3 separate regions of the Homo sapiens genome follow, and regions 2 and 3 are each linked to region 1. The links are contacts of gene promoters, found by promoter capture Hi-C in human tissues and cell types (Jung and others, 2019). All regions are on one chromosome and are shown on one strand. The core of a region is centred on a gene start or on the middle of the fragment in contact, and the rest is flanking DNA. Distances in the headings are between cores, read along the strand shown.

What was found. Contacts are between HindIII fragments. The study calls those that stand out against the background at their distance.
Region 2: a contact is called between a fragment that was not itself captured here and the fragment with the promoter of FGFBP1 in region 1, in 1 of the 25 tissues and cell types used here (mesendoderm cells).
Region 3: a fragment that was not itself captured here is called in contact with the fragment with the promoter of FGFBP1 in region 1 in 2 of the 25 tissues and cell types used here (bladder and liver).

Annotation. Positions count from the first base shown.
Region 1 is chr4:15,936,600-15,940,339 of GRCh38, reverse strand. FGFBP1 (fibroblast growth factor binding protein 1) reads left to right here and starts at 1,600. Exons shown (of 3, transcript NM_005130.5): 1 at 1,600-1,653; 2 at 1,869-2,089; 3 at 3,688-3,740. The coding sequence starts at 3,708. The HindIII fragment of the contact is 13,154 bases long and covers 1-3,740 here.
Region 2 is chr4:15,800,573-15,804,697 of GRCh38, reverse strand. The region is part of intron 1 of CD38 (CD38 molecule); the gene reads right to left. Among named protein-coding and RNA genes, the nearest start is that of CD38, 24 kb to the right of the region's middle. The HindIII fragment of the contact is 3,995 bases long and covers 1-3,287 here.
Region 3 is chr4:15,690,323-15,694,203 of GRCh38, reverse strand. It overlaps FAM200B (family with sequence similarity 200 member B), which reads right to left. Exons shown (of 2, transcript NM_001145191.2): 2 at 3,757-3,881. Among named protein-coding and RNA genes, the nearest start is that of FAM200B, 10 kb to the right of the region's middle. The HindIII fragment of the contact is 5,285 bases long and covers 1-3,881 here.

The DNA of each region.
Region 1 (3,740 bases), core at 351-2,850:
GAGCAAAGCAGACGCTGGGATGGGAGTCACAGGAAGGGGAAGGGCCACAAGGAGCCAGTGGGGAATGTGCAGTGTTACCTGGCAAAGCTCAGAGAAGCACTTCCCAGAAAGACCCCGGAGTCCACATGTTTCCTTGTAAATATGTTTTGTGTTCCAACTGCAATCTGCCTCCAGAAAGAATCTGCCTGCCTCCCAAGGATCAAGTAGAATTTTCCATTTTGTAGGAGACTCCCCTTGTTGAGCAAAGCAGCTTTGCCTTGCCTATGTCCAAATAATCCTCCAAAATACCGCATGAGAGAGCCTGTTCGTGGAGGTCAGGGCCTCAGCGGGGTGTTTGTGAGGATAGTGAGGACGGACCCCTGGGTGAGGCAATTTTAGGAGAGAGGCACACAGCTTCAGAAATGGCTTCTTCCAACAGATTCATGCAGAGACTGAGCCTCTGAGTAAATTGGTCAACATCTATAGCTATGACCACGGAATTCTCAAACAGGTGGATCGTTCATAAAATCCAAACACAGTTACAAGTTTTGGCCTGCATAGTGTTGAGCTACAGCTTTATTTTTAGAAAATTTTAATTAGCTGCCAACCAATTTCATATAAACACATCTGGATTTGGGGATGTCATTTTAAAAATCAGACAGTGTGACAATACTGAGCCTAATCCCTGCATTTTCTCAGTCAATTGGAGATGAGTGTTGACCTCTATGGAGGCAGAGACTCTCTAGTTTGCCACAGTCCCCATCACTCCCTATTGCCTTATCTCAAACCCAAAAGTCAGTTGCCATTTAATATCACACTAAACAATAGTTTTCTTATGGCTGAATTAAGGAAAAGTGAACAATTTCTTCTTCTGAAAATCTATGAAAGGTGAGGTGATAATATATAATGAGGGCCACATCTTCCCTGTAGAAGTGAGTTTCTTTTTAAATGCTGCATATGTAAATAACAAATGTCTGTTTTCAAAGTATACAACTTAAGACCCTGTCATGAGGCAAAACGATTCTGCTCCACTTTATGTTAACAGCTTAGCCCAGTAAAAATTTAGTATGCAGCTATAAAGGAGACGTTGTTATTGTCAGCACACTGCAAATGGATGATGGGAGAGGCTAAGTGGTTTGGGCATAGCACTCAGCTAAACACATGCTGTGGCCAGGATTCCACCTGGGTCATTCTGGTGTGGGACTGTGCCTGTAGCAGGCAGGGCAGCCTGAGCTCTCTGAATGAGACCTGAAGGTAAGTATTTACAACAGTAATCTTATATTAAAAATTCCCTCTTTACCAGCCTCTCAGAGCCTGGTAGAATTCCCTGATAAAAAAGAGGGAATTTTTAATGTAAATTTCCCTGCCTCTAGAATTAGGGTATCCTCTGCTTATGTAGTAACTTCAGATGGAAAAAGGAACTCAGACACTACGAAAACTTCGGCAACTTCAGTCACCCATTCAACAAAGATTTATTGAGAGTGGCAGGCAGGAAGAGATCAGACCATGGATGTAGAGAATCTCACTTTTAATTTTGAGATGTTCCTTTTCCTGCCTCTGTGAACTTGGACAAGCTCTTACATATCTCCAGAACCAATTCCTGCTTTTGTAAAAGGGGAGGAATCATTGCACTCCCTACTAGAGCGGATGTGATGAGGGAAAAGGAGAACTCAGGTAAAATGGGCTCAGTAGTTTGGCAGCTCGGATCATGTCATTATAGTTATTTTACTCCTCCATAGACATCACTGCTGGGGTCCTCTCCCCATCAAGGAGGGTCACTGTGAGGCTGAGTTGTCCTCCTATCCTGGCCACAGGGTGGACAGGGAAGGGCCTAGAGGAAGCGTTTGATGGCATGCAGGTAACCCCCCTTTTCACTGGATTACATCCAGCACTTTCCCTGCAGGAACCGGCTCCCTCGGAGGGGCGTGGCTGGGAGGAGCTGTGAGTAACGTGCCACAGTGTTGTAAAAACCCAGTGAGTGTTATAAAAACCCAGTCAGCCTGGCTCCTGTTGAATAGTCTACCCCCCTTGCACTCTACCTGACACAGCTGCAGCCTGCAATTCACTCGCACTGCCTGGGATTGCACTGGATCCGTGTGCTCAGAACAAGGTAAGAGCCTCGCTCCTTTAACAGCTTTATTACCTGCTGCCACTTCTCACTCCACCAAGGGCCTGGAGTTCCTTGGGCCTGCATTCCATCATGGGCAGGTGGGGGCTGAGCCCCAGGGCCGTGAGAAATGACTGGGTGTTTTTCTGGCATATCCAGTCTCCTCTTCACCATTTATTGCTGTTCTCTGCCCTTTTGTGATTGTCTTTCTCCTTCTTAACCCTAGAAGATGGCCAACTTCTAGGGTAGAAATCAGATCAGGACCATTTCCTGGGTCTGCCTCTTTTTATAAAAAATTCTGTGTTTTGTTTTAAATGGAGCACAAATAATACAAATCATCTTATCATTATGTGTTATATGAAACTAAATTGTCATTGTTCATAGTTGTTTTTCTTATTCTTTGGCAATGTTTTTAAAGGGCAGAGTAAATGTGAAAAGCAAAAAGTGATCAACCAGGGGTGACAGAAAGGAATAAGGAGATTGATCTGGCTACCCATACCAGCTTTGAACTTGCCCACTATGAGATCCTGAGCAATTTACTTACCTGTCTGAGCCTTAAGAGTCAGAGCTGTCACCTGGGATGACATATTAATAGCTACCTGGAAGAGCTCTTGTGTGGATTTCACAAGGTGGGAATCAAACCCTAGACCAGTACTTAGCACACAGGAGGTGTCATATAGAAACTGACTTCTCTTCTTCTGTTAAGCATGGGTTTTTATTGTACACATGATCAGATTCATGCAGTTCAGTGTGACGTTGGTGTTCATCCTATTGATTCAATGATTTCTCATGATCCTTGTCTTCGATCTTGTAGTGTGAACTATCTGGTTGAAATTCACCTCTCTCCACCCTGATTCACTTTGCCCAGGCAAATCAGACAACCACCCCACCTCACACCTTTCCTTAAACTCTTACTTCCCCACAAAAAGCTCCCCCACCCCCACAACCCCACCCACCCCACCCAAACCCCAGGCATGTTCAACTCTGGGTCAACATCACCTTTCATGATGCTTACCACATCCTTTCTCATTTTGGGCATCTGTCATGTCTTTTCTCATTTTGGGCATCTGTGTCCATATGGAGTCATGAGATAGAAATCCAGCCCTTTGGAGCTGAAAGTTTGGAGCAGTAACTTGTTTCATATCAGAAACAGAGATGACGGGATAGATTCCCTGATCAATGCTATTTAAATTCTCCCAAAGAGTGGTCTCTAAGCTCTTTCAAATCTGAGGCTTTCTCAATCATGGTGATTTCTTCAACACCTAGTCTGGTGGGGGGCATATAGTAGGTGCTCAGTAAATGCTTGTTGAATGAGTGAATGAAAGAGTGAGGAGTGAGCAGATGCAGGAGTTAATGAGTGAATAAATGATAAATGAGAGTTCGTGAGGCTCCAAAGAGTGGTACTTTTGTGACACTCAAGACTCAAGTCAAGTGGAAATGTGAGTAGACAGGCTGTTTGTCTAGTGACTCCAGGAGCCAGAAGCGTTCTTGGTCTACTCTGAAATCATGTAGGCACCTGTCAGGGTAGGGGGAGGCCAGCGTGTAGTCCTGCACAGCTGAACTGCTGCCTGCCACTGACTCACTTGCCTTTTGTCAAACAGGTGAACGCCCAGCTGCAGCCATGAAGATCTGTAGCCTCACCCTGCTCTCCTTC
Region 2 (4,125 bases), core at 41-2,540, 140 kb after region 1:
AAGTGAGAATATATGAAACTTGTCTTTCTGTGCCTGGCTTATATCACTTAACATAATGTCCTCCAGGCTCATCCATGTTGCCACCAATGATAGGATTTCATTCTCTTTTATGGCTGCATTCCATTGTCTATATATCCCACATTTTCTTTATCTCTTCATCTGTTGATAGACACTTCGGTGGATTCCATATCTTCATTATTATAAATGAAACTACAGTAAAGATGGGAGTGCAGGTATCTCTTCGACATATGATTTTATTTTCTTTGGATATAGGTCCAGTAGCGAGATTACTGGATCATATGGTAGTTCTATTTTTAGCCTGTTAAGGAACTTCCACACTGCTTTCCATAATAGCTGTACTAATTTACATTCCTACCAACAATGTGTGAGAATTTTCTTTGTCGCTTATACACTGTTGGTGGGAATGTAAATTAGTTCAACCGCTGTGAATATCACTTTGGAGATTTCTTAAAGAACTATTAATAAAAACTGAATTACCATTCAACCCAGAAATCCCACTACTGGGTATATGGCCCACAGGAAAATAAATTGTTCTACCAAAAAAAAGACATGCACTTATATGTTCATTACAGCACTATTCACAGTAGCAAAGACATGGAATCAACCTAGATGCCCAATAATGGCAGATTGGATAAAGAAAATGTGGTGGTATGTATACACCATGGAATACCATGCAGCCACAAAAAGAAGAATGAAATCATGTATTTTGCAGCAACATGAATGCAGCTGGAGGCCATTATCCTAAACAAGTTAACGCAGAAACAGAAAACCAAATACTACATTTCTCACTTATAAGTGGGAGCTAAACATTGGGTACGCATGGACATAAAAATAGGAATGCTAGGCACTGGGGAGTATAAGAGGAGGGAGGGAAGGAGGAAGGAAGGGTTGCAAAACCACATATTGGGTACTATGCTCACCACCTGGGAGATGGGTTCAATCATATTCTGAAACCTCAACATCATGCAATACACCTGCACATGTAACCCCTGAATCTAAAGTAAAAGCTGAAATGTTTTAAGTTTCCTTTTATCTGCATTCTTGCTAGCTTTGTTATTTTTTCTTCTTTTTGATGATAGCCATTCTAGCTGGCGTGAGATAATATCTCACTGTGATTTTGATTTGCATTTCCCTAATCATTAGTCACATAGAGCACTGTTTCAAATACTTAGTGGCCATTTTATGTCTTCTTTTGAGAAACGTCTGTTCAGATCAATTGCCGATTTTAAAAATCAGATTATTTGGCTTTTTGCTGTTAAGTTCCTTGTATATTCTAGATATTAATTCCTTGTCAGAGAAACCGTTTGCAAATATTTTATCCCATTCTGTAGTTTGTCACATGACTCTGTTGATTGTTTACTTTGCTGCACAGAAATGTTTAGTTTGATGTAATCCCATTAGTCTATTTTTGCCTTTGTTGACTGTGTTTTGGAGGTCTTATCCATAAAATCTTTGCTCAGAACATTTTCCTTATGTTTTCTCTTAGTAGTTTCATAATTTGGGGTCTTACACTTAAGTCTTTGATTCGTTTTGAGTTACTTTTTTATATTATGATAGATGGGGCTCTAGTTTCATTCTTCTGCATATGAATATCCAGTTTCCCCAGCAATATTTATTGAAAAAGGTGTCCTTTCTTCAGTTTATGTTCTTAGTGCTGTTGCAGAAAATCAATAGGCCATAAATATGTGAATTTATTTCTGGGTTCTCTATTCTGTTCCATTGATTTATGTGTTGCTTTAATGCCAATACAATGCTGTTTTACTATAGTATTATATTTTAAAGTAAAGTAGTGTGATCCCTCCAGTTCTTTTTGCTCAGAATTGCTTTGGCTTGGCTAGGAGCAGAGGCTCATGCCTGTAATACCAGCACTTTGGGAGGCTGAGGCAGGTGGATCACTTGAGGTCAGGAGTTTGAGACCAGCCTGGCCAACATGGTGAAACCCTATCTCTACTAAAAATAGGGCATGGTAGTGCATGTCTGTAATTCTAGCTACTGAGGTGGCTGAAGCAGGAGAATTGCTTGAACCCAGGAGGGAGAGATTGCAGTGAGCTGAGATCATGCAACTGCACTCCAACCTGTGTGACAGAGGGAGACTGTCTCAAAAATAAAATGAAATGAAGTGAAATAAAATAAAATAAAATAAAATAAAATAAAATAAAATAAAATAAAATAAAATAAAATAAAACAAACAATTGCTTTGGCTATTTGGGGTCTTTTATGGTTCCTAACAAATTTAAGAATCTTTTTTTCCATTTCTGTGAAAAATGCCATTGAAAATTCGATAGAGATTGCACTGAATCTGTAGATTCCTTTGGGTAGTATGGAATCTTAACAATATTAATTTTTCCAATCCATGAACATGGGATATCTATCCAATTTTTTATGTCCTCTTCAATTTCTTTTATTAGTGTTCTGTAGTCTTTATTCTAGAGATCTTTCACCTCTTTGGTTAAATTTACTCCTAGGTGGAGGTTTTTTTTGGGGGGTAGCTATTGTAAGTGGGGTTCCTTTTACAGATAGTTTATTATTGGTGTATAGAAATGCTACTGATTTTTGTATGTTGATTTTGTATCTCACAACTTTACTGAATTTGTATATCAATTCTAAGAGTTTTTTGGTGGAGTCTTTAGATTTTTCTGTAGGTAAGAGGATGTCATCTGCAAACATGGTCAATTTGACTTATTCCTTCCAAATTTGGATGTCTTTTATTTCTTTCTGTTGCCTAATTGCTCTGGCTAGAACTTCCAGTACTATGTGGAATCAGAGTAGTGAGGGTAAGCATCCTTATCTTGTTCCAGTTTTTAGAGAAAAAACTTCCAACATTTCCCTGTTTGGTACAATATTAGCTGTGGATTTGTCATATATGGCCTTTATTAAGATGAAGTGTGTTCCTTCTTCTAAACCTAATTGTTTGAGAGTTTTTATCATGGAGGGATGTTGAATTTTATCAACTGTTTTTCTGCATCTATTGTGGTGATCATATGATTTTTGTCCTTCATTCCGTTGATGGGATGTATTATGTTTGTTGATTTGCATATGTTGAACCACTCTTGCATCCCTGGAATGAATCCCACCTGGTTTTAGTAAATAAACTTATTAATGTGCTGTTGGATTCAGTTTGCTAGTATTTTGTTGAGGAACTTTCCATTTATGTTCATCAGGGATACTGGCCTGCAAAATTCTTTTTTTGTTGTTGTATCCTTGTCTGGTTTTGTATCAGGTTAATTCTGGCCTTATAGAATGAGTTTGGAAGAATTCTCTTCCCTTCAATTTTTTGGAATAGTTTGAGAAGAATTGGTAGTTATTTTTCAAAGTTTGGTAGAATCCAGCAGTAAAGCCATCCAGTCCTGAGCTTTTTTTTTTAATTGGGAAACTTTTTATTGTTGTTTAATAAAAATTATTATTGAGGTTCCTCAATAATTGTTATTGGTCTATTCGGATTTTGTATCTCATCCTGGTTCAATCTTGGTAGGTTGTAGGTGCCCAGAAATTTATCCATCTCCTCTGGGCTTTCCAATTTATTGGTGTTCATAATAGTCTCTTACGATCCTTTATATTTTTGTGGTATCAATTGTAACATCTCCTTTTTCATTTATTTGGTTCTTCCCTCTTTTTTCTTAGTTAGTCTAGGTAATGCTTAGTCAATTTTTTTTAAAAAACAACTTTTCATTTTGTTGATCTTTTGTATTACTTTTCCAACCTATTTCATTTATTTCTGTTCTGATCTTTATTATTTACTTCCTTCTACTAATTTGGAGTTTGGGGGTTTTGTTGTTGTTGTTTTGCTTTTATAGTTTCCTGAGGTTCACTGTTAAGTTGTTTTAAATCTTTCTACTTTTTTGACGTAGGCAATCATTACTATGAACTTTCCTCCTAGTACTGCTTTTACTGTATTCCATAGATTTTGGTATGTTGTGTATCAATTTTTATTTGTTAGACATGTTTTCATCATTTTCAGTAAGTTTTTTTATTTTTCTTAATTTCTTCATTGACCCATTGGTCATTCTGGAGTATGTTGCTTAATTTCCAAGTATTTGTACAAAACAAAAACCCTAATTTTTAAAGATGGGCAAAAGATTTGAACACATACTTCAAAAAGCCTAT
Region 3 (3,881 bases), core at 601-3,100, 250 kb after region 1:
ATGTACAAGTAGCCAATAGGGTCAGCTCAGATTGTGCAGTCTGACCCTACCCATGGGGGAGGGACACAGAAGTAGGAATTGCGTTAAGGATATAAAAACCCCCCAGTCTCCTTTGTTCTCTGTGCTCTTGCGATCTTAGTTGATGCAAGTGGCACCCTTCTGCAGAAGTCAATTGCCTTGCTGACAGGATTAAACTTTTGCCTGACTGCTGGTTTTACTTCACGGCACCGAGCATTTATTCCTCGAGCTTTTTATATCCAACAAACTCAAAAATAAGAAAAACAACCACATCTTAAAATTGGCAAAATAGTTAAACAAATGCCTCACCAAAGAAGATATTCCATTCCTAGGTATTTACCAAAGGAAAAATGAAAATACATCTATGCAAAGATTTGTGCCCATGTTTGTAGAAGCTTAATTCGTAACTCAAAACAGTAAACAATGCAAATGTCCAACAACAATATATTAATAACTTGTAACATCATCATATAATAGAGTATTATTTAGCAATACAAAAAAATGACAAATCTTTTAAAAATATGCTGAATGAAAGAAGCTAGATGTAAAAGAACACAAACTTTATTACTCCACTTACATAAATTTCTAGAAGAAATAGTAGTATGCTGATATACACAGTTGGCGGAAAAGAGATTTCAGATGGAACGAATTGCCTGAGCAAAGGCAGAAAAGGAAAAACCATGGAGCTTCTGAAAACAGTTGAAAATTTAGTTTGATTGGTAAACAGGTTGCAGATGGAGATTGGACAGGAAAGTTAGGGTCATATCTTAAAACCATTGAGCACAATGCTAAGGCATTTTCACTTTGTTCTCTTGATCATTATGAGTTATCAATAATTTCTGAGCTTCCTTATTGAAAACTGTGTTTCTTTTCTTGGCCAAAATTCTTGATTGCCAGAGAATGAAGAGAGATTATGCATTTAAAGGCCTTAGAATAGTGTTTCATAGTGTGCTCTCATTGATGGTTTTGAATGCTTATCTAATATGTTCTGTGTGTTTATTGTCCGTTGTGGAAGGCTGAAAAATAGGCCAGCAAAGATGTCCATGTCCTAAACCCTGGAGCCTATGAATACGTTACTTTACATAGTAAGAAGGCCTTTGCAGATGTGATTAAATTAAGGATCTTGAGATGAGCAGATTATACTGGCTGATCTGGATGAGTCCAATGTCATCTTAAGAGTCCTTACAGGAGGAAGTCAGGTAAATCAGAGACACAGAGAAAATAATGTGATGGCAAAAGCAGAGAGATACTTGAAGATATTATGCTGCTGGCTCTGAAGATGCAGGAAGGAGCCATAAGACAGGGGACGCAGGCAGACTTCAGAAGCTTGGAAGGGTAAGGAAACATTCTTCCCTGAATAATCCAGATGGAATGAATCCTGCTGATACCTCGACTTTTGCCCAGTATACATTGGACTCCAAAGAAGAATAAATTTATGTTGCTTTAAGCCACTATGTGGCAATTTGCTAAAGCAGCAATAGGAAACAAATACAGATTAGGGTACCTGAAACCATCACTCTTTCTGCCCCTTTTCCCCTTCATTTGTAAGGTTGAACTTGGGAATCACCAGGAGTAGGACTATTATTCTTGTTTAATCTTGACCAGAGTCCACAAGGAAGGCACCCCAAAGAAAAAGCAAGATTGGAGAATAGGTGAGTTCAGTCATCAAGATAAAGATTTTTCTGGCCCCAAATTATGACAACTTTGCTGTAACAAACACTAAAATTATGGAAGTAATTTGGATTTGGATAATCTGTAGAGAGACTGGAAGAATTCTTAGGAATATGATAGAAGAGGCCTAAATATGCTCGAATAGGCTGTTAGTAAAAATACGGGTGTTATGAGGGCTTGGAAGTAAGTGAACAGCATGGTAGAGAAAACCTGTATCATACTAGAGAAAATCTTAACACACCATAAACTGTAGAAATATAGATGTTAAAAGTGCTGCTGGTGAGGGCTCACAAGAAATTGAGAAACATATTTTTGGAAACTAAAGGAAAGAGGGTTCTTGTTATACAGTGGTAGAAAGCTTAGATGAATTGTGTCCTATAATTGTAAGAAAACAGAACTTTTAAGCAATGAACTTGTATAGTTGAAGTTTCCAAGCAGTGATGAAGGTCTGACTTGGATTTTTCTTGTTACTTTTAGAAAAATGAGAGAGAAAAGGGATAAACTGAGAGAACTGTTAGAAAATGAAACTATGATTTGATGATTTGAGTAATTCTCAGCCTATCCAGATTGCAAAAGATGCCAAAGCTAAGAGATCCACTGTAAGGAAAACATGCTCTGGCGAGAAAGCCAACAATATGGCTGCACATCCTTTTTTTAAAAAGTTTTTGAATTTTAAATTGTGGTAAAATATACACAATATGAAATTTATTATCTTAACTATTTGTAAGTGTGGGTAGTCTTTTGCTACTGCTTAGGAGGCACAAAAGATTACAGTATTCAGATACACAGAGCTCTTTGAAGAGGCATGTGACTCACAAACCCCCTCAACCAATCTCAGCAGAAGCCCCAACTAGAGATAGGATTATTCAGGAAACATCTGTTGAGAAGCCTCTTTCAATGGAGTGAATCCCTATGACTCACAATGTTTTGTTTACCAATAGAAACACTGTCAAATTGGACTAAAACGGACAGAGTGGTTGAAATGAAAGAAGGCAACCGAGTTCCCTAAATTCTACTAGCAGGAAATGGGCTAATAAAACTATTTAGTAGCAGACATGTGGTACTCCTCATCCAAAAAGATGGCTCTGAGGGTGGAGCCCCAGGTACAGAGGGCAGGTGCAGGAGCCACAGCTATTCCCAGGCTTAGTAACCTAATGCAGTTTGTCCATGGGACTTTGAAAGGAATTGGCTGGTGTCTTCTTTTTGGCTTTTTCTCCCTTTTTGAATGGGAACATCTATGAATGTTACCCTATTTCTGTCCCACTACTGTTGTAGAGCACAGAACTTGCTTTCTAGTTTCATAGGTCCTTAGATAAAAAATTTTGCCCCAGAGTAGATTATACTCAGAGCTGCACCCATATCTAATTTAGATATGAGATTTGGGACTTTTTAGTTGATGAAACTTAGATGAGATTTGGACTTGAGTTGATGCTATAATGGGTTGAGATTTATGGGGACCCTAGGAGGGGTGAATGTATTTTTCACATGGGATGGATGAGTCTTTGGGGACCAGAGGGTGCTACAGTAGGCTTAATAATGGCCTCCCCAAAGATGTCTACATCCTACTGCCTGAAACCCATGAATGTTACCTTACATGGTAAAAGAGATTTTACAGAGGAGACACACAGAAACACACAAACCTCTGGATCAGAGACACAATTTCTTATTCATAGCAAAAACAGCAGCCAGAGTAGCATTGTATGTGTTCCCCATGCTCCAATTCCTATAACGTAATACAGTAAGGGCCAGGTGTTACCTCTGCATGGAGTGGGTTGCACTACAGAAGAGGAGCCCCAAATTTTAAGTCTCTAGGCTTTTATGGGGCTGCTGACATGTCTGCCTATCTTCTCCAGAGAGATTACTCATTATTTCTGGAATGTAGGCAAATTCCCCTCCTGGCGTGAGAAAAGAGAAGGCTTTATCTTTACTTCCCTGGGATGTCTCTAGGGGAGGTGCTATCTCTAGCGTCACTATCCTGGAATGTTTCCTTTACACATTCTTAATTTGGATGTGAACACGGTCAAACGGGATTCAGACTGTGCAGAAATATGAGCTATTCACAGGGAATTGTTTTTCAACACTTTATTTCAAGCATTAAAAAAAAAGAAAAAATCAATTACCTTCAATAGAACAGAAAATCTGAAAAATTAAATAAGGCTAGGCATGGTAGCAGATGGAAAGGAATTACTATC